7 separate regions of the Homo sapiens genome follow, and regions 1, 3, 4, 5, 6 and 7 are each linked to region 2. The links are contacts of gene promoters, found by promoter capture Hi-C in blood cells and fetal thymus (Javierre and others, 2016). All regions are on one chromosome and are shown on one strand. Each heading gives the region's core, a stretch centred on a gene start or on the middle of the fragment in contact. The rest is flanking DNA. Distances are from core to core; before and after follow the strand shown.

Region 1 (3,046 bases), core at 38-2,537, 650 kb after region 2:
AAAGATTAAAAGCCCACTGGAACTCCAAAAAAAGATGAAAGGGGACAACAAAAGTCTCAAAGTGCCTGGCACACAGTAGTTGCTTGATAAACATTGGTTTCCCTTCCCTTCCCTTCTATAGGAAAGGCCTTATTTTGTTCTCTCTTGTTCCCTTTGTTCTTCCTTTGTTCTCTCTTAATACATTTTGTTCTCTATTGCAGAAATGGGCCTCCTAGCCAACCACCTAGTAGGAGAGAAAGAGTCCCCTCTCTCTTTCTCTCTCTCTCTTTTTTTTTGAGACAGATTCTCCCTCTGTCACCCAGGCTGGAGTGCAATGGCACGATCTTGGCTCACTGCAACCTCTGCCTCCCGGGTTCAAGCGATTCTCCAGCATGATCCTCCCAAAGTGCTAGGATTAAGGCGTGAGCCACCACGCCCAGCCCCAGTCCCCTCTCTTATAATCCTGAAGAACCAGTATTGCTAACCCACTTCAAGAACCACTGGCAGGATGAGTGATGGGGAGCAAAGAGGGCGCCTATGTCAAAAGGAAGATAAATGTGCCTCATGCTTAGGAAGACACTATGATGGAATGCCTGGACAAAGCAGCATTTTTCTTTGAAATGCTATGAGACGATAAGAATGAAAATAGGTCTTCTCCAACTCGAGGGCCGAGGGCAGAAGAATTATTTCTCAGTGGTTACTCCATGCTCAAAGGAGTTGTCCTAGGCCTCATTGAATCATTGACTCAGCAAATATTTATAAAATGTCTACTATGTGGTTGTCTCTGCTTTCACAGAACTTATAGTCTCATCAGAGAGAGATAATAATCAAATAATCCTACTAATGAATATACAAATACAAACGACGATGACTATTATGAAAGAAGGGGGCATGATTCTATGAGAACTTTAAGAATCTGACCTAGACTGGGGAAACAGACCATGTTAAAGATTTGGACCTTTATTTTGAGAGCAATAGGAGGTTGTTGAAGGGTTTAAACAAGGTTTTGGCATAATCAGATTTGCATTTTGAAAAGATTGCTCTGGTTATAATGAGGAGAACAGATTGAAGGAGGCCTGTTGTGGTAATGCAGCAAGAGGTAATGGTATCTTGCTTTGGTAGTGGTGATGGTGGTAGAGACAGAAGTTATGGATTAAAGAGATATTAAGGAAATAACAGCATTGGCCGGGTGCAGTGGCTCACGCCTGTAATCCTAGCACTTTGGGAGGCTGGGGTGGGCAGATCACTTGAGGTCAGGAGTTCGAGACCAGCCTGGCCAACATGGTGAAACCCCGTCTCTACTAAAAATACAAAAATTAGCTGGGCATGGTGGTGCACACCTGTAATTCCAGCTACTCAGGAGGCTAAGACAGAAGAATCCCTTGAACCCGGGACATTGCAGTGAGCCAAGATTGTGCCTGAGTGACAGAGTGAGACTCTGTCTCAAAAGAAAGAAAGAGAGAAAGAGAGAGAAGGAAGGGAGGAAAGAAAAAAGGAAAGAAAGAAAGAAAAGAAAGGAAGGAAGGAAGCAAAAGAGGAAGGAAGAGAGAGAGAGAAAGAGAGAGAAAGGAAGAGGAAATAACAGCATTTACAGGACTTAATGATTGATTAGATACGGGGTGAGGAGGAACATGGTGACAATAAGGATTTGGGCTTATATAAATGGATGGAAGACCAGAAGTAAAGTCTTAGACATATTGCCTTTGGGACACCCAACTGCCAAAATTGAGCCGGCAGCTGGATACACAGTCTGGAGCTCCAGGGAGAGGTCACGGCTGGAGATGACAAATGTGTGGGTCATTTTCTCAGAGGTAGTTCAAAGGCAGTAGATGAGCTCACTTAAGGAGAGAGTAGAGTGAGAAGAAAAGAGGCCTAGGACCAACTCTCAGGAACTCAGACACGTCATTTAGGGCAGTGGATCTGAAAGTGTGCTCCATGCAACCCTGAGGGGGCCCCCAAGACCCTCTCAAGGGTCTGTGAAGTTAAAACTATTTTCTTTCCTTTTCTGTTTTTGTTTTTTGTTTTTTTCTGACAGGCTTTCCCTCCTGCTGCCCAGACTGGAGTGCAGTGGTGCGATCTTGGCTCACTGCAACCTCTGCCTCCCCAGGCTCAAGTGATCCTCCTACCTCAGTCTCCTGAGTACCTGGAACCACAGGTGTGCACCACCATACCCAACTAATTTTTGTATTTTTTGTAGAGATAAGTTTTGCCATGTTGCCCAGGCTGTTCTTAAACTCCCAGGCTCAAGTCATCATCCTCCCACCTCGGCCTCCCAAAGTGCTGGGATTTACAGGCGTGACCCAGTGTGCCCTGCTAAAACTATTTTCATAATAGTGTAAGATACGATTTGCCTTTTTCATTGTGTTGACATTTGCACTGATGGTGCAAAAGCAATGGTGGGTAAAACAGACTGCACCTCAAAACAAATCGAAGCAGTTGTGCTAACCTGTGCTAGTATTCATAGTACACTTCACTGCCATGCACATGCACTAAAAAAATTTCACGTTTACTTAGGAATGTTCTTCATCAAATGGTAAAGATTATTAATTTCTACTAAATCTCAATCCTTGGGTACTTTTTAAAAAATATTCTGCTGGGCGCAGTGTCTCATGCCTGTAATCCCAGCACTTTGAGAGGCCAAGGCAGGCAGATCACCTGAGGTTGGGAGTTCGAGAACAGCCTGACCAATATGGAGAAACCCTGTTTCTACTAAAAATACAATATCAGCCGGGTGTGGTGGCTCATGCCTGTAATCCCAGCTACTCAGGAGGCTGAGGCAGGAGAATCGCTTGAACCCGGGAGGAGGAAGTTGCAGTGAGCCAAGATCTCACCATTGCACTCCAGCCTGGGCGACAAGAGGGAAACTCCGTCTCAAATATATATATATATTCTGACGAAATAGGAAGTACACATAAAGCATTTCTGCTGTATCCCAAGTACAGTGATAGTCTCCAGGAAAAGCACTTCTGCAATTGTTTGAGTTTCAAGCAGAATTAGCCTCTTTTTTCATGGAGCACCATTTTGTTTTGTTCTGTTTTTGTGTGTGTGCGTGTGTGTGTGTGTTTGG
Region 2 (2,788 bases), core at 11-2,510:
GAATTGGAGGCAGTAGTCGTGCCAAGACCTCAACTACTGATTAAAAGCAATAACGAAAATGTTAGGCCGGGCGCGGTGGCTCACGCCTGTAATCCCAGCACTTTGGGAGGCTGAGGCTGGCGGATCACGAGTTCAGGAGATCGAGACCATACTGGCTAACACGGTGAAACCCCGTCTCTACTAAAAATACAAAAAAAAAAAAAAAAAAAAAAAAAAAATTAGCCGGGCGTGGTGGCGGGCACCTGTAGTCCCTGTTACTCGGGATGCTGAGGCAGGAGAATGGCATGAACCCAGGAGGCGGAGGTTGCAGTGAGCCGAGATCGCCCTACTGCACTCCAGCCTGGGCAACAGAGCAAGACTCCGTTAAAAAAAATAAAAATAACCAAAATGTTTGCACAAATGATAATAAATATTCCTACACAGTCACCATTTTTTTTTAGACGGAGTCTTGCTCTGTTACCAGGTTGGAATGCAGTGGTGCTATCTCGGCTCACTGCAATCTCTGCCTCCCGGGTTCAAGCGATTCTCCTGCCTCAGCCTCCCGACTTCAGGCGTGCGACACCACGCCCAGCTAAGTTTTGTATTTTTAGTAGAGACGGGGTTTCACCATGTTGGCCAGGATGGTCTTCTTCTCTTGACCTCGTCATCCGCCCGCCTCGGCCTCCCAAAGTGCTGAGATTACAGGCGTGAGCCACGCGCCCGGCCTCACAGTCACCATTATAATTTATGTAAGGCTAAGATCATACCTTTTTCCAGCCATCCCCAAATTTCACTCCTGACTTCCTCCAAATAATTTAGAGGAACAGGAAAATGAGTAGAGAGGGTTCATTGTTCGCTGGGTCTAAAAACAGATCTAAAAATAGCCTGCCCCTTTCAAGGCTCGGGTTAAAGGGGCTGACTCAGTTCCACCGGACATTTGTTCCTCACAAACCTTCCAAAGTCCCTGCCTCTGGCCCTGGGAGATCGAGGCTCTCGGAGTCAGGCTCTATGGGACTCCCTAGGGAGAAGAGGGAAGAGGGATGGTAGAAAAACAGGGGACGACTCCGAGGCCCAAGTCTCTTTCAGATGCCCTCCAAGCTCGGGATCACGAGGGGACGAACCCCAATTTCGTCCCGTGCCCCGGCAGAAGCCACCCTGCACTGCTTCTTTCCCCAGGCTGGGAAACCTCCAAGGACTCTCCCCTCTGGGTCCTTACTCACGCGCACGTGTTCGGAGCTCCGCAGGGCGCAGCAGCACCGGCAGAGGCCGGAGGGGAAAGGGCAGCCGGGAGCCGAGGGGAACCCCGCCCCGGGGCGGCTACTGGGCGTGGCTTCGGTGGGCGGGGCCCTTGACCCCGCCTAGGAAAGGCCGGGCTTTAAAAAAAAAAAAAAATGCGAGTGCGGTGGCAGAGGTGAACCTGCTTCTTAGAGGAGAGAAGGGCTGGGGTCTGAGCAATGGCTGGGTTTGTTGGACTCCCATCCCATCTCTTAAGGGTAGAAGGGGCGCATAGTTCGCAGCTGCTCAGGAGAGAATCTGTGTGTCCTAGTGGAGCCAGGCTTCCTGCCTGCCCACACTGAGCGCCCCCGGAACGCTGGTTCCGCTCACGAGCGTGGCGCCTTTCCGTTGCTGCAGGCCCAGCCCACGCTTTTGCGCTTCCCACGCATATCCTTTTTCTGGCTTTCTGCGGCAGCGCTGTCATTCGGCTAATGGATCGCTCACCCACGCAGGTCACCTTGGTCCACGGTCTTCGGGATCTTTCCAGGAGGTTTTCGAATAGATTAAGCCAGTCACTCCTACTGCTGACCTCTGCAGGACCGGCCTCCCTAGTGCCCTGCAGTGGGATTCTTCGCCGAGCTGCAGTAACTGAAGAACACTGGCTTTCTCTGCTAGACTTGCCCTGCACCATGGCACAGTCAGGCAGAGTCCTTGGTCAGGACAGACTGCCTGCAAGGCTACCAGGATTTCTTTGGAACACTAAAACTTCCCTCTCCCAGTGGCTAGAGTCCATATGATTCTGCTGGGGTCCAGAGTGGAAGGCCTACAAGCAGTGATTCCCAACTCCATTCTCTAATTCCCCCAAATTCCTTTCCGACACCCGCCCCCCAACAACAACAACCAATCCTGTAAGTTTTGCTGATCTCTTGCACCTGGCACCATTGCCAGGTGAACCCCTGGGAACCAAGCCACTGCCCTTGGCATCTGCCAACATGTTTCATTGTCTATTTCCTCAGCTCTTTCATAATGAAAAAGGTATGCTTCTTGTGCACCCCAACTCTTGCAGACCTCTCCTAAGAAAGCCCAGAGCCCCAGTTTGATTCCAGCAAGAGACCCTAGGCTGTAGGGCCAAAGAGCCACTGGAGGGGAAGTGGCAAGCTCAAATCCTCCCCAGTTTTGATGCAGTTGGACATAGGCTCTGGTTGGGAAAAGGCTTACATAAATACAGTAATTTAAAAAGTCACATGACCAGTGCTGGGCTGGTAGGCAGGAGCTCTGCTTTGCAGTTAAATAGGAATGTGGCTGAAGACTGCTGCCATAATCAATGCCCACATCCGGCTGTCACAGCGTGTTCATAAAGGAAGGTTATGAGAGCTATAAAACCAGGCAGATTGGGTGGGTAATTGTCCTACCGAGCTCTGCTAAAGGAGAAATTGCATTGGCATCTCATATATTTCGCTTTCTTTCCTTCCAAACACACAAAGTGGAGAGGGCAGAGCTACCCTGAAGATTCATGAAAAGGAAAGATAGGGTGTGTGTGTGTGTGTGTGTGTGTGTGTGTATGTGTGTGTGTGAATGTGCATGTGTGCTTTCA
Region 3 (3,017 bases), core at 491-2,990, 630 kb after region 2:
CTGGCCCAGCCCACGGGCAAGGGTTCTCCTGCTTTCAAAGGCCAACGGGACCCTCCTCCATCACCACTGCTTGCTCTACCATGGTCCCCTTGGGAGGCAATCTTGCCAAGGAATCAGCAGCACAGGCTGCTGATTGGTTGGAATTGGAGAGAAGAGTGTTTGGCTCCTGGCTTGGTCATTTTCTAAGACTCCATGACCTTGGTGAAGTCACTTCTTGCTCAGATTGTTTCTTTAGCTGAAAATCGGGATAATATGATGAATTCTTAGGATTTAATAGTACCATATACATCATGTGCTTGCACCAAGACTGGCACTGTGTCAATTTTTTTTTTTTTTTAAAGCGGTTTGGGAGTCTCTCTGAGCCTACTCTGGCTTGGGAGCCTGCCTGATTTAAAAAATAATAATAAATTAAATAAAAAAGAAAAAAAAAGCTGTTAAAGGCTGGGCATGGTGGCTCAGACCTATAATCCCAGCATATTGGGAGGCCAAGGTGGGAGGATCGCTTGAGGCCTGGAGTTTGAGATCAGCCTGGGCAACATAGTGAGACCTCATCTCTTTTTAATTAAAAAATTTTTTTAAAAAGCTGTTAAAATGTTATCATTATTATTACTATTCTGATTTTTATTATCATTGCGTGTGCCTCTGTTTACTTGTCTGTAAGATAGAAATCATGATTAGACCTAATTCAATGAGTAGTTTGCAGATTTCATGAGACAAAACACGTAAAATGCCTTGAACAGCACCTTAGCCATGGGAAGTGTCAATTAATAGGAGTGATCCCTATACTCCCCTCCTTACCCCCACCCCAGGCCTTCAGATTACCTACTGGGGAGCCACCACCAAACTGGCCCAAACTCCCAGTTCCCTAAGTAGTAGGGGCTATGAAAACGAGGTTTCTGGAGCTGTAGTCAGGGAAGCCATTCCTTTTTCCTTTTTTTTTTCCTCCATCCCTGCCCTCTGCGGAAGTCATTCCTAATTGCAATGCCAGTGAACTTCAAAGTCACTCCTGTCTGGGAAGGAGGCTTTGATCTCTGTGCTTCCTCATTTCTGTCTCAAGCCTGAGGTCCCCTGAACAGGCCGATGTCCAGCTAATGCCCAGTGTCCTGGAGAAAAGGAGTAAATGTTCGTTTAGAATGGAAAAAGTTTTGCCCCTATACAGAGGGCCTGGTATCAGGCTTGGGGTGGGGGGACACACAGGAGGATGGATAAGGTCTGCACCTCTTCCAGGTGCCTAAGTTCCCTGTCTTCTGTTGGTCCAGCTGAGGCCTTATTTCAGCAAGGAGATCTGAGATGTGGCTGAGGAGGGTGGACTGCTCCCAAATCCTCACTGCCTTCTCCTCTGAAAATACCAACACTCCTCTGGGCCCTGTCATGCTTTTGACCTTTGAGAGGGATGAAGAAGCTGATTTGCGATGGGCTTTGAACAGATACAGTTTCCTCATCCTTGGCCCTTCCCACAGATGTGCACCTCACTGGTCCATTCCCACACTGGTTTCACAGGTGGGTGTCTCAGGGGTCTGCAGTGTGTGCCGTGATCTGCAGCTGGGAGAATTTAGAGGAAACCTCAGGGAAAACGTCCTTGGTGAAAGAGCTGAGAGACGCAAAGAAAAGGCTACAGGCCCACGCAATTTTCTTCTCTTCAGATTTTCAATCAGAGAAGGCCTCTTCCCTACCCCCTACTGCCCTAGAGAGCTCCAGAGTTAATGCCTCAGTAGGGCTGGGCTGGAGCTGAGGCTGGGTATCCACCCGTAGCTGTCAGGACCCTTAGGGCATTTTAAAAGGGTAGGGCAACCCCACACCACCCCCAAGGCAACCCTGTGGCCCTGTGGGATGAGGTAGACCCCTGAAGTCCTGAGAGTTTCTACAGAGCCAGGCTCTAGGGCAGGGGTGTCTAATCTTTTGGTTTCCCTGGGCTACATTGGAAGAAGAACTGTGTTGGGCCACACATAAAATACACTAACATGGGCCAGGAGCAGTGGCTCATGCCTGTAATCCCAACATTTTGGGAGGCTGAGGCAGGTGGATCACCTGAGGTCAGATGTTCAAGGCCAGCCTGGCCAACATGGCGAAACCCTGTCTCTACAAAAATACAAAAATTAGCCGACATGGTGGCACGAGCCTGTAATCCCAGCTACTCGGGAGGTTGAGAGACGAGGATCACTTGAACTGGGAGGCGGGGAGGTTGCAGTGAGCCAAGATCATGCCACTGCACTCTAGCCTGAGCAATAGAACAAGACTTCATCCCCACCCCGCCCCAAAAAACAAAAAAACCCACTAACACTGATAGCTGTGAGAAAAAAAAAAATCGCAAAAAAATCATGTTTTAAGAAAATTTATGAATTTGCATCGGGCTGCATTCAAAGCTGTCCTGGGCCACATGTGGTCTTGGGTTGGCAAGTTTGCTCTGGGGGAACAGATGACTTGGTCAGATGGAAGGGTGTAGACATAGGGATGACTTGGGCATGTCCCAAGTACAAGTCCACAGACTCCAGACTTGGCCTGTGCCCTCAGCTCTGCTGGCAATGCCTTTGTTGGCAGCCCAGAGGTCCCATCCTCCACACCAGCCACCACACCCAGGACTGCTCCTCATCCTTTGGACAGAGAGAATTTGGAGGTGCTAGAAGCCAAAAAGCCAGCCTTTTCTTTTGGGGCTGTGTAACCTGATACAGGCATCGTACCCCCCACCCCATCCCCCTAAGCCAGTGCTCATGCAGGCCCTGTTACTGGAAGGAGAAACTCCCAAGTGTGGGAGGCTTTGGGGTGACAGGGTGGGGAGGAGGAAGCCCGAAGAAGACAACTGGGAAGAAAGTCCTAACAGTGTCAGCTCCAGGTAAGGAATGTGCTGCACCCTGCCGACCAGCTCAGTACTCTAGGCTCAGCCCATCCCCATCTGATGGGGCCAGGAAGAGTCACAGAGGACTGTGAGATCTGGGAGAAAGAGAGAAAGCCATTTTTTTTTTCATGATGAAGAAGGTGGTGAGCAGGTCATGGGCAATAGCAACACAGATTAACCTGGG
Region 4 (3,016 bases), core at 515-3,014, 680 kb after region 2:
ATACAAAAATTAGCTGAGCATGGTGGCAGGTGCCTGTAATCCCAGCTACTCAGGAGACTGAGGCAGGAGAATCACTTGAACCTGGAAAGCAGAGGCTGCAGTGAGCCGAGATTGCACCACTGCACTCCAGCCTGGGCGACAGAGTGAGACTCCATCTCAAAAAACAAAAAAAAGTATTATAGGTGTAGACAGTGCTGTGGAAGATAATATGCAGGACTGGCCTAGGCCTTAGGAATCTAATCTATTCTGGGGGCTGGAGAAGCTTGCCTATACAAGTGACATTTATGTTGGGACCTGAAGGCTAAATAGGGTTAGACAACTGGCTGGTGGGGAGAAAGTGATCTAGGGAGAAGTGAGGGCCTATGGAAGTGCAGAAGCAACACTTCAAGGACCCGAAAGAAGGCCCGTGTTGCTGCAGTGAATCTATCAAGGAAGGGTTGCCGATATAAGGAGGTTGAAGGGACCAGCAGGAAGCTGGGAGATTTTTTTCTTTTTTAAGAGAATGGATCTCACTATGTCACCCAGGCTGGAGTGTGGTGGCTATTCACAGGCACACCATCATTGCACACTACAGCCTTGAACTCCTGGGCTCCAGTGATCCTCTTCTCAGCACTACAGGTGTGCACCACCACACCCAACTCTGGGTTTTTTTTTGTTTTTTTTTTTTTGAGACAGAGTTTCACTCTTGTCACCCAGGCTGGAGTGCAATGGCACCATCTCGGCTCACTGCAACCTCCGCCTCCCAGGTTTAAGCGATTCTCCTACCTCAGCCTCCCACGTAGCTGAGATTACAGGCGAGTGCCACCGCGCCCGGCTAATTTTTGTATTTTTAGTAGAGATGGGGTTTTACCATGTTGGCCAGGCTCGAACTCCTGACCTCAGGTGATCTGCCCTCCTCAGCCTCCTGAAGTGCTGGGATTACAGGCATGAGCCACCGCTCCCGGCCTTTGGGGGATTTTAAATGTTGATTAAGAACAAGCAAGTGGGCCAGGAGCAGTGGCTCATGCCTGTAATCTCAGCACTTTGGGAGGCTGAGGTGGGCAGAACACCTGAGGTCAGGAATTCGAGACCAGCCTGGCCAACATGGCGAAACCCTGTCTCTACTAAAAATACAAAAATTAGATGGGCGTGGTGGCCAGCTCCTGTAGTCCCAGCTACTCTGGAGGCTGAGACAGGAGAATTGCTTGAACCCGGGAAGCAGAGGTTGCAGCAAGCCAAGATCGCACCACTGCACTCCAGCATGGGCCACAGAGTGAGACTCCGTCTCCAAAAAAAACCAAGCAAGTGGAAAGTATAGAATCAAAGACTTGCAGGATGGGCAGTCACAGGATTTAAAGGTCATCTAGTCCCACCACCCAGATGATACTGGTATCTCCTCTGCTCATTTTTTATCACCAGATGAATCCAAATGGAGGCCAGAGAGGGGCTGGCATGAGGTCACAGCAGGCTGAGGTAAGGGAGTATCCATGAAGCCCCGAAGGCTGAGGCAGGAGGGTTCCGGGTTCCATTTCTCTGACCCAAGTATGAGTTGGAGCTGGTCTCTGGTCAAACTGCCTATTTGTGTGAGGACACTCATAGGACCAGCCAAGGAAAAGCAGATAACAACCATTCGTGTTTATTAACCATAGCACATTGGAAGGCTAATTGCTCTGAGCAGGTGTCGGGGAGGTTGATTTGTTCAAGAGGGCCTGGCTAGTTTGTATTCGTGACAGAGAAATCTATTGTTGAGAGCCGGGCAAGACAGCCTGTGAAGAAGCCAAAGAAGGGCAAAGCCAGCCTGACCAGCACCCAGAGGAGCTCTGGCCCATGGACTCGATCAAGGAAATTTGTTCATCATTATCAGGGCAAATGCTTCCTCCTGTGCTGGCAGCAGGACAAACAGGCTACTCCTTGGTGATACAAACCAGTGAAATATTCATGATTATATGACAATAATGAACCTGGCCCCTTCTTCCCTTCATCTTCCTGATTCTCACTGTGTGGCAGGGCTGTGTGTGCTCACAAACAGTCCTGTGTCCTCGTCATTATCATAATTAATCAATATTTAATAAGTGCCCCCCACACTATGAAAAGCCCTGTGGTGACTCAGGATACAAGAAAGTGGTAGTCTCTGCCCCGAGAAGGTTCACAAATCTAAATGAGGAAAGTAGAAACATGCACCAAAAGGTAAACCATAACCAATACATGGCTGCAGTGACATGGGTTTGGGATTTAAAAGGCCATCAAAAGGCCAGGTGCAGTGGCCCACACCTATAATCCCAGCACTTTGGCAGGCCAAGGCAGGAGGATCACTTGAGCCCAGGAGTTGGAGACCAGCCTGGGTGACAGACAGAGTGAGTCCCTGTCTCTACAAAAAAAAAAAAAAAAAAGAATTTTCTGAGACAGGGCCTCACTCTGTCGCCAAGGCTGGAGTGTAGTGGTGCAATCTCTGCTCACTGCAGCCTCCGCCTCCCAGGTTCAAGCGATTCCCCTGCCTCAGCCTCCCAAGTAGCTGGCACTACAGGCATGGCGCTGTCACATCCAGCTTTTTTTTTTTTTTTTTTTTTTTGTATTTTTAGTAGAGACGGGGTTTCGCCATGTTGGCCAGGCTGGTCTCAAACTCCTGGCCTCAAGTGATCTGCCTGCCTCCGCCTCCCAAAGTGCTGGGATTACAGGTGTGAACCACCGCACCCAGCCTACAAAAAGTTTTTTTAATTAGCCAACCATTGTAGTACATGCCTGTAATCCTAACTACTTGGCAGGCTGAGGCAGGGGGATCACCTGAGCCCAGGAGGTTAAGGCTGCAGTGAACTGTGATCATGCTACCGCACTCCAGCCTGGGTGATAGAGTGAGACACTGTCTCTCAAAAATAAATAAAAATAAAAGTAAAAAATAAAAAGACCATCAAAGACCACTGTAGAAGAACAAGACAGAGCCTAGAACTTAAGGAAATTGGCCTCAGAGCAGCATGATGCAGGAAGGTACTTCAAGCAGACTAGAAAGAGATGCTTTGGGGTCAGGAATGAGAATGTTTGT
Region 5 (3,112 bases), core at 249-2,748, 560 kb after region 2:
TTTTTTTTTTGTAGAGATGGGGTTTTGCCATGTTGCCCAGCCTGGTCTTAAACTCCCAGGCTCAAGCAGTCTGCCCACCTCAGCCTCCCAAAGTGCTGAGATTATAGGCATTATAATATAGGAGCCAAATGCTCCTGGCCTGGTGGTAGTTTTAAAATATGGCTTCAGGCCAGGCATGGTGGCTCACGCCTGTAATCCCAGCACTTTGGGAGTCCAAGGTGGGCAGATCACTTGATGTCAGGAGTTCGAGACCAGCCTGGCCAACATGGTGAAACCCCATCTCTACTAAAAATACGAAAAATTAGCTGGGCATGGTGGTAGGCACCTGTAATCCCAGCTACTCAGGAGGTTGAAGCAGGAGAATCACTTGAACCCAGGAGGCGGAGGTTGCAGTGAGCCGAGATCACGCCACTACACTCCAGCCTTGGTGACAGAGCTGTCTCAAAAATAAATAAATACATAAAAATAAAACATGGCTTCAAATTTTTTGACCCTTCTCTCATCAAGAAGTGGGGGCCAATTCTATGTCCTCTTTCCTTGAATCTGTACAGGTTGGTGACATCTTTGCCTATAGAGGATGGTGGAAATGATGACATGTGACTCCCAAGGCCAGGGTATAAAAGGCCATGAAGTTCCTGCCTTGTTGGCTGTGACACTCACTCTTGGAACCTGAAGTCACCATGTAAGAAGTCCCAAAGGTTACCATGCTTTGAGGAAGCCCCAGCTGTGTGCAGAGGCCATATAGAAATGCTTTGGTTGGCAGTCCCAGTTGAGCCCAGTTTCAAGTCATCCTAGCCCAAGCACCAGACATGCAAATGAAAAAGCCTCCAGTTAATTCCAGCCATTAAAGACACCCACCCTCTCAGGTATGCCAGCTAAAGCCCCAGACATCATGAACCAGGGGCTTCAGGAATTGCCATTGTACCGCGTCCAAATTACTGACCCATAGAATCTGTGAGCACGATAAATTTTTTAAATTTTTTTATTTTTTGTAGAGACAGGGTCTCCCCATATTGCCCAGGCTGGTCTTGAACTCCTGGCCTCAAGCAATCCTCCCGCCTTGGCCTCCCAAGGTGTGGAGATTATGGGCGTGAGCCACTGCACCCAGCCCATTTTTTTTTTTCCCCTAATGCCACTAAGTTTGAGATTGTTGCACAACCATAGGTAATCATAGCAGTATTATTATTCCCATTGTACAGATGTGGAAACTGAGACTTGGAGAAATTAAGTTTTAAGGCAAGTGACAGGACAATTTGCACGCAGGTCTGTTTGACTGTAAACTCCATCTTTCCCACTACAGACACAATAAAGGATGGGGTGAAGGGACTAACTGGGTTGGGGGAGGGAATCATACTGTTGTACTTTTCCTCATTTAAACCATACCCCAAATTCTGCACTCACCTTCTCATCACAGGGCAGACACGCTCACACACTTCAATTCCTGGGGACATTGGCAAAGATCGGTCCAGCTTCCCTGACTGGTTGATGTCTGATGCTGAGTGAAAAAAGCTGGAACAGAATCTCTGGGTCTGGAGGCCTCATCTCCAGCAGCGCAGACCTGTATGCTGGTGCCTTATTGACCCATTTTTCAGGCAGATCCTGCTCTCCAAAGATGCTCTGAGCCATGACCTGTCTGATAACCAGTCAGTAGCCCTTTGAAGATTAGCCTAAAAAAAATGGGTCCACTGGTGGGGTGGAGATGAGGCAGGTTTAGTTCTTTGTTTCCTGCAGAGAGAGGATATGAGTCTGCTCTCTCTTCTTCCCTGTTTACAATAGCGCTGAGGGTTTCATTTCATTAGTCTTTATAAAGTCTCTGGAAGATGTCAGGTGCCAGGTGCTATAATAAGTGTGAAATTTAACTACCTTTTCATCAAGGCAAAAAATCCAGCCTGCAGACATTCAAGGGCAGGGAATCTGCTTGTAAAAGACAGGAACCCTATTGTCAACTTTAAATAAATTGCAACTGAAGCATGATCTGGCACCAAATTATCACAGCAAGTCCTCTCAGGGGCTCTTGCTGACCAGCAAGGGATCAGCAATAAGAATGTGGTCTTGGAAAGGGGCCAGGTTGAAGCCAAACCGCTGCTACCTCTCATGGCCAGGGGTTTCCAATGGCCCGTCATTTTTTCCCCCTGGAATATACCATTCTCCCTACAGAGGCTCACTGTCCTGCTCTGCAGGCCTTCTTCAATACCCACCCCACATCCTCTCAGCCCCACCTCCCTGCGTCCCTGCTATTGCAATTATTTCTGGTGAGCCCTGCTGGCTGAGTTTTCTAAAGGTACAGCCCTGACCATTATTAACCCTTGAAGAGCAAAATGCCAGGCAGGGGGTGGTAGCTCACGCCTGTAATCCCAGCACCTTGGGAGGCTGAGGCTGGCGGATCACCTGAGGTCAGGAGTTTGAGACCAGGCTGCCCAACGTGGGGAAACCCTGTCTCTACTAAAAAAAATACAAAAAATTAGCCAGACGTGGTGGTGGGCACCTGTATTCCCAGCTACTTGGTAAACTGAGGCAGGAAAATCGCTGGAACCTGGGAGGTGGAGGCTGCGGTGAGCTGAGATTGCGCCATTGTACTCCAGCCTGGGCAACAAGAGTGAAACTCCGTCACAAAAAAAAAAAAAAAAAAAAGAGCAAAATGCCAATAGTGCTGTGTCATAGGGGGCATACCTTCTATTTACAGATGCTTTTTCAGATCACAGGGACTAGGCAAAGAGAGGATTTTACTTTAATAACAAGCAGGTGCTTAGAATTAATGCAAGGGAGAAAAAGCCATGAAGGAATCTGAGCAAACAGTGGAGAATCCAGGTCAAAACCAGAGGAGACATTGGGCAGCATATCGAAGAAGGTTCTGGACCAAAGCCACTAGGAGCAGCTTTGTTCAATTCCATAGGGAAGCAAATTAGCATTTACTGAGCTCTTACTATATGTCAGGCGCTGCCGATGATATTTTAATATATTATTTAGTTCTCATTGAAAACCTGTGAGCTCCCATTTTGTGAATGAGTAAATTGAGGCTCAGAAAGAAGTAATTAATTAACTGAGGTGATTGTCCCAAATCACACAGGTAGTATGGGAAGGATCTGGGATTCAAACCCAGATTTCCCACATT
Region 6 (3,047 bases), core at 287-2,786, 610 kb after region 2:
GGTGTTTGGAGAGCCATCTGCAATCTGTCCGTCGCAAGCACCAAAGCCTCACCACGTTATGGTCCTAGAGTTACCCCCAAGGTCTTCCTCCAACCCTGCACTACGCCGGAAGCGCCTCGCGGAAGTGCCTCCCTGCGCTGGCTGAGGATGGGTGGCCCTGAGACTCGGGCTCTGAGCTCTGAGGGCTGCTTTGCTCTAGGCGTGCCCCCTCTATGCTGTTGCCCTGCGCCTCCTTGCTCGGGGCAAGGAAACAGAATGCTAATGATGATGAGTCCAGGTTTCCCTGGGTGTGGAACCAGCCAGATAGATGGATTCCAGCGCCACATCCTGGCTCCAGCCTCCAGACCTGCCACTGCGCCAAGATGGCCGCCTCCCCTGTGACTGTGGGCAGGAAATGAGGGGAGTGAACAGGCAGAAAGCGGAAGCGAAAGGACTGAAATGCAGGAACAGATTTCATTTTTTTCTGCCCCAAATCTGGTGGAGTGTTCCCAAGGTCACTGAGACTGTCTCCCTGACTCCAGCCCAGTCTGTGGCCTCCCAGCTTCCTAGGGAGCCCAACCCACACCCCCTGACTTGCTGGGCACCTGGACAGGGGGGATGAGGGACTTCAACTCCATGCAGTTATTTCAGCTCCATGATTCAGCTGAAATCCTCCGGGTTCAAGCTGTTGACTAGAATCTGTCTAAAATAATCACCCTCCTTTGATTTAGGCTATAATGTGGTGTTGAGGCACACGACCGAATGGCTGTTAGGGACATAAGGACCTCTAGGCCTGGGAACTCCTGTGGATGCTGCTTGAAGCTCCAGTGCTCCCGCAGGCCCACAGAAGTGTGGTGCTATGCCATTCCTCCCCAGTCTTGGCTTCTGGAAAACTACTCATTCTTCAAAATCCTGATCAAAGATCACCGGTTTGGCCAGATGTGGTGGTTCCTGCCTGTAATCCCAGCACTTCGGGAGGCAGAAGCGGGAGAATTGCTTGAGCCCAGGAGTTCCAGACCAGCCTGGGCAACAAAGTGAGACACTCTCTCTACAAAAATTTAAATATTAGTCAGGCACAGTGGCACATGCCTATAGTCTCGGCTACTTGGGAGAATCACTTGAGCCCAGGAGTCTGAGGCTGCAGTGAGCCATGATCTTGCCATTGCACTCCAGCCTGGGTGACAGAGCAAGACCCTGTCTGTAAAAAAACAGGATCACCTCTTCTTTGAAGCCTTCTCAGATCTGATCCCTTTTCAGGTCTAGCTAATTGCTCTCCTTTGAGTCAATACTTCATTCTGCAAATGGCCTGATCTTGAACAAGTTACTAATGATTATGGGACCTCTGTAAAATGGAGATGATAGATCCCTCACAGGGTTAGCAAGGAGTTAAAGGTAATGTATCTTTAAAACTTTGCATTGTACTTGGCACATGATCAGGGCTCAAAAAATGACGGTTTTTCGAGTGATAATGGCAGTGATTGCACTTTTTCAGTCATCCGTTTACATATCTGTCACCTCTAATAGATTGTGAACTCTTCAGGACAAGGACCACAGTTGAGTCACTGCTGTAGGCATGGCACCCTGGCTGGCTCAGAGTGAGCACCCAATACAGAGTAATGAATGTCAGTGTTGTCATTAAGACACTTACAATAATACCAACTGGCCTTTAACGAGTGTTTGCCATATGCTGGCCACTGTTCCAACTAGTTTACCAAGATTATGTCATTTCATCTTCACAGCAATCCTATAAAGCATTATCATCCCCAATTTACAGATGAATAAACTGCATCTTATCAAGGCTAGACAATTTGCCTGAGGTCTTACTGTAAGAAGTAGGAGATGGAGACAGTTCTTGAACCAGATCAGTCTGACTCCAGAGTTTTTGGTCACCCACCCAACTCCACTGCCCAGTGTGTTCTGTGCTATATTATAATCCTCAGGCCACCTGTCTTTCTTTTCTGCCTGTCAACAGGAATTGGGTTTGGTTTATTTCTGTAGCCACTAAACCCTGCACAGATCCTGGCACACAGTAGGCCACACAGTCAATATTTCTTGGATAAGTAGATGAGAAAAGGAGAAGGAGAAAGGAGATGGTCAAAGGCAATCAAGAAGATAGTAGGGCTGGGTGGGGCAAGAGATGTTCAGTTTTGGGGAGCCATGGGATGTGAGGCTTCAAGTGGGCAGGGAACGGTATGGCCTGGCCCTGGGGCTCACACACCTTTCTCAGGGCTCCTTGTCATTCCCACCATCCTGAGTGCAAGTGCATTTGGAAGGGCATTCCCTTGGGAACAGACTGAAGCTCAGAAGAATCCGGGCTGAAGGCTCAGGTGCCCCCCTTCTCAGGCAGCTCCTTCCCACTCCCAGGACCACTGGCCTGAGTTCGGGGAAACAAAAAGAGGTTTGCAGCATGTGAGCCAGCATTTGGGAGAAGAGCAAACAAGAGCAGACAGCAGCATCTCTGTGCCTTAGGAGACTAAACAGTGGGGGCCAGGGAGTCACCCCCCACTTCCTGAGCTCAACATTCAGGGCCTGACCTGACTCAGGAGGCTTGTAGCTTGGGGGAGCCAGCCTTGGTGGAGGTAAATCTCTCCTGTGAGTGGGTGGGTGCGTCTCTGGTTCCCTGTCCCATCAGCACCCTGGGGTGGGGCCTGCCCGCCAGCTGACCCCAGGACCTGGGTTGCAAGAACCCTTGCCAGCCACTCAGCCTGGCATCTTCAAGCCCAGCTGATGCTAGAGGGAGATGGAGTTTTTAATTTATATTTCTCGGCTTGATTCAGAGTCTGGGCAGCTATTTTGACTGCTTCACTGGAATATTCTTTAATCCTGAGTTTCTTTTTCTCATTATGGCTCGAAAATTAAAATCTCTCTGCCTTGGGCAAATGAAGGCTGAGTGAGAGAAGGCTGCTGCCACCACACATTTCTTATTTCAGTCAATTTGGAAACACCAAATGCTTTTTCTCAGGGCAGGTGACCGAGGGAGGAGGATGGGGCAGAGTTTAGCCTCCTCCTTGCCACGTCCTGGGCATTAATCCTCCCATTATTCCTGCAGCCCTCGCTGACCTGGCCTA
Region 7 (2,863 bases), core at 320-2,819, 670 kb after region 2:
GAGCAGCAGCTTCCAGGCTGTGGGAACAACTAGCGCAAAGGCCCTAAACTAGACCTGCCATGGCAGGCCCTGAAATGATAAAGGAGGCTCATGTGTTTGGGACACGCTGGGCCAGAGGACAGTGATTTGACATAAACTGGAAGAAATTAGAAAGCAGGAAGATTCTGCTCTTAAAGGCTGTATAGGCCAGGCATGGTGGCTCACGCCTGTAATCCTACCACTTTGGGAGGCTGACGCAGGCGGATCACGAGATCAGGAGTTTGAGACCAGCCTGGCCAACATGGTGAAACGCTGTCTCTACTAAAAATTAAAAAATTAGCCAGGTGTGGTGGCGCATGCCTATAATCCCAGCTACCCGGGAGGCTAAGGCATGAGAATCACTTGAACCCAGGAGGCAGGGGTTGCAGTGAGCTGAGATGGTGCTACTGTACTCCAGCCTGGGAGACAGAGCAAGACTCTGTCTTAAATACATAAATAAGGCTCAGCCGGGCATGGTGGCTCACTCCTGTAATCCCAGCACTTTGGGAAGCTAAGGCGGGTGGATCACCTGAGGTCAAGGGTTCGAGACCAGCCTGGCTAACATGGTGAAACCCCGTCTCTACTAAAAATACAAAAATAGGCCGGGTGTGGTGGCACACACCTGTAATCCCAGCTACTTGGGAGGTTGAAGCAGAAGAATTGCTGGAACCTGGGAGGTGGAGGCTGCAGTGAGCCGAGATCATGCCACTGCACTCCAGGAGACAGAGTGAGGCTCTGTCTCAAAAAAAAAAAAAAAAAAAAAAAAAGGAGAAAAGAAGAGAAAAGAAAGAGATAACATAAATAAAGAGAAGAGCAATTAGCACAGTAACCACTCAACAACTTTCTCCTCCTCCTCCTCCTCATTACTTGGTTTACAAAACACTTTCTCATCAATTATCTCATTTGATATTTGCAATAACCCTGTGATTGGGTATGGCAGGTGCTACTGTTTCCATTTCACAGGTAAAAACACTGAGGCTCAAGATGATTAAATACATCATCCAAGTCACAGAGCAGAAACAAACCCAGGTGTTCTGACTCCACATAGCACAAGCTTCTCTCATTGTGGGGAGAGCAGAGGGCAATGTAAGCAGGCAGAATAACAGGAATGAGAGAAAGAAGCAGGGAGCGTTGGTAAACCCAACTGCCTGTCATTTGCACCAGGCATGCTCTCTCAAGAGGAGCCTGTACCCTCTGCCTTCTAGGTAGTCTTCATATTCCCAGATCACAAGTCCTAGCTCAGGAAAAGGAGCAACTTACTGGTGGACAGCCTCAACAGAGCAGGAAAATTGTGAACAAGAGAAATTCACCACCTCTACAGTCTCATTAACACTGCAGACCTACACACACATGCACCAGACCTGCAGGTTGTCAGCGGTTAGTTACTAAGCCTGAGGCCTGAAATAAATTAGGCTGCGTCTCAGAAAAAACAAGGTTATGTTACTCATATTAAGTATTCGTGTGGATTAAAATGCCATCTACTGTTTTGTGGGTCACCTTTCTTTTCTCAGGGCCCTGCTGAGTGGCTGGAAGGGTTATCTTCCACATGCGCTACTCAGACTCTGTCCTGTCACCTCCCAAAGGGGACTGGCCGAATTGAACCACCTACCCCTTGTCTATCAGAGCCAGGCTATGAGGCCCCCGGGTAGGGGCTTCAGTGCCTGCCTTTGGAATAAAGCTGCCTTCTAGGGTTGCCCCTGGCAACCAAACTGCTTGAATGTCTGTATCTCTTAGAGGAGACTTGGGAGTTGGGGAGGAGGAGGATTGGTCCCTGAACCACAGGATGCAGGGAGCATGTGAGGCATTGTCCCCCTTTCCACCTTTCAGCCCCTAGACCCCACCTCCTGATGACAACAAGTGTTGTCCCCTCACCTGGCTTCTGCAGGTCAGCAGAATTAGCCTGAGATTCTCCCTGAGGACAGAGAGGTTGGGGAGAACCTGCCTGCTTAGCCTATTGCAAAGATCCAGGTACCCAACACATCTTTGGACAGTTCCTGGCATACCATATGCCTTCAAATGCCTAACACCATTTCGTCCTTTAAGCTTCAACATCCCCTTCTCCAGGAAGCCTGCCCTGACTTGCCTTTTGTGACCTAGGCAGAGATAGTGTCCCTGCCTGCGAAACCCTGAGTATCACTCTATCATAATACACATCACTCCATTGTAGATGTATCTGTTTTTATTAGTTTCTTTAGGTTAAGGAGTGTGTATTATTCTAGCCCAGGACCTGGCACATAGGCACAAAATAAATGCTTATTGAATAGGTAAGTGACTGAGTGAGAACACAGGACTGTGACAGGAGAGCATTTCCCAAACCAGCAGTCCTGTAGTCCATTGTAGATTAGTGGGAATGTTGCAAAAAATAAAAAGGAGTTCTTTGCTTAGATAATGTTGGGAAAGAAACTCCCTCCCTTCCTGAGGCAGGAAGGAGCTCTTCAAGCACTGGCCAGAGGAAGCAGAATGTGCAGAGCACAGAGGGGCCTGAAATGATTCAGCTGCATCCACAGTATAGGGTGTGCAGGGGGAAAAAGGAACCAAGACAGTCCTGAAAGCTGAATTGATGCATTTGGGACAGGAGAGTGGCAAGCTCCAAGCCTCATGTTAGGAAGACAGATCTGGCCAGGTGTGTAGGGTGGACTGGAGGGAAGAACCAGCTGGCAGGGACACTTGTCAGGAAACTGTTGTGACAGTGCAGACTTGATCTGTAAAGGGTCTAGACAAGAGCAGTGACAGAGGGAAATGAAAGCAAGAAATAAACCACCCAACTCTATTGGATGGCTTCTTCATCAGCCCGGGGACGGCAGCTGCTGCCTGACCCTGGTTAATTACCAGCCTGTGGTTGCCA

The links. Contacts are between HindIII fragments. The CHiCAGO score rates a contact against its expected background, and 5 or more counts as called.
Region 1: a contact is called between a fragment that was not itself captured here and the fragment with the promoter of SNHG4 in region 2, in 4 of 17 cell types (endothelial precursors, M0 macrophages, M2 macrophages and 1 more). The highest score is 8.9, in endothelial precursors.
Region 3: a fragment that was not itself captured here is called in contact with the fragment with the promoter of SNHG4 in region 2 in 3 of 17 cell types (endothelial precursors, activated CD4 T cells and M0 macrophages); the score reaches 12.2 in endothelial precursors.
Region 4: a contact is called between a fragment that was not itself captured here and the fragment with the promoter of SNHG4 in region 2, in 7 of 17 cell types (erythroblasts, endothelial precursors, megakaryocytes and 4 more). The highest score is 10.4, in erythroblasts.
Region 5: a contact is called between a fragment that was not itself captured here and the fragment with the promoter of SNHG4 in region 2, in 1 of 17 cell types (erythroblasts). The highest score is 5.2, in erythroblasts.
Region 6: a fragment that was not itself captured here is called in contact with the fragment with the promoter of SNHG4 in region 2 in 1 of 17 cell types (M1 macrophages); the score reaches 5.4 in M1 macrophages.
Region 7: a contact is called between a fragment that was not itself captured here and the fragment with the promoter of SNHG4 in region 2, in 3 of 17 cell types (megakaryocytes, M0 macrophages and erythroblasts). The highest score is 7.2, in megakaryocytes.

The regions. Positions count from the first base shown.
Region 1 is chr5:138,625,249-138,628,294 of GRCh38, reverse strand. No RefSeq gene overlaps it. Among named protein-coding and RNA genes, the nearest start is that of HSPA9, 51 kb to the right of the region's middle. The HindIII fragment of the contact is 4,392 bases long and covers 1-3,046 here.
Region 2 is chr5:139,272,573-139,275,360 of GRCh38, reverse strand. SNHG4 (small nucleolar RNA host gene 4) reads right to left here and starts at 1,260. Exons shown (of 7, transcript NR_182757.1): 1 at 1,200-1,260; 2 at 747-997. It overlaps LOC124901081 (a long non-coding RNA gene), which reads left to right. Exons shown (of 4, transcript XR_007058956.1): 4 at 1,707-2,294. It also overlaps a transcript of MATR3 not described here. RefSeq lists a silencer at 1,187-1,266 and an enhancer at 1,557-1,906. The HindIII fragment of the contact is 4,492 bases long and covers 1-2,788 here.
Region 3 is chr5:138,643,060-138,646,076 of GRCh38, reverse strand. No RefSeq gene overlaps it. Among named protein-coding and RNA genes, the nearest start is that of HSPA9, 69 kb to the right of the region's middle. The HindIII fragment of the contact is 3,641 bases long and covers 1-3,017 here.
Region 4 is chr5:138,589,204-138,592,219 of GRCh38, reverse strand. No RefSeq gene overlaps it. Among named protein-coding and RNA genes, the nearest start is that of HSPA9, 15 kb to the right of the region's middle. The HindIII fragment of the contact is 3,000 bases long and covers 265-3,016 here.
Region 5 is chr5:138,715,684-138,718,795 of GRCh38, reverse strand. No RefSeq gene overlaps it. Among named protein-coding and RNA genes, the nearest start is that of CTNNA1, 36 kb to the left of the region's middle. The HindIII fragment of the contact is 4,843 bases long and covers 1-3,112 here.
Region 6 is chr5:138,658,878-138,661,924 of GRCh38, reverse strand. No RefSeq gene overlaps it. Among named protein-coding and RNA genes, the nearest start is that of HSPA9, 85 kb to the right of the region's middle. The HindIII fragment of the contact is 6,224 bases long and covers 1-3,047 here.
Region 7 is chr5:138,605,393-138,608,255 of GRCh38, reverse strand. No RefSeq gene overlaps it. Among named protein-coding and RNA genes, the nearest start is that of HSPA9, 31 kb to the right of the region's middle. The HindIII fragment of the contact is 989 bases long and covers 1,075-2,063 here.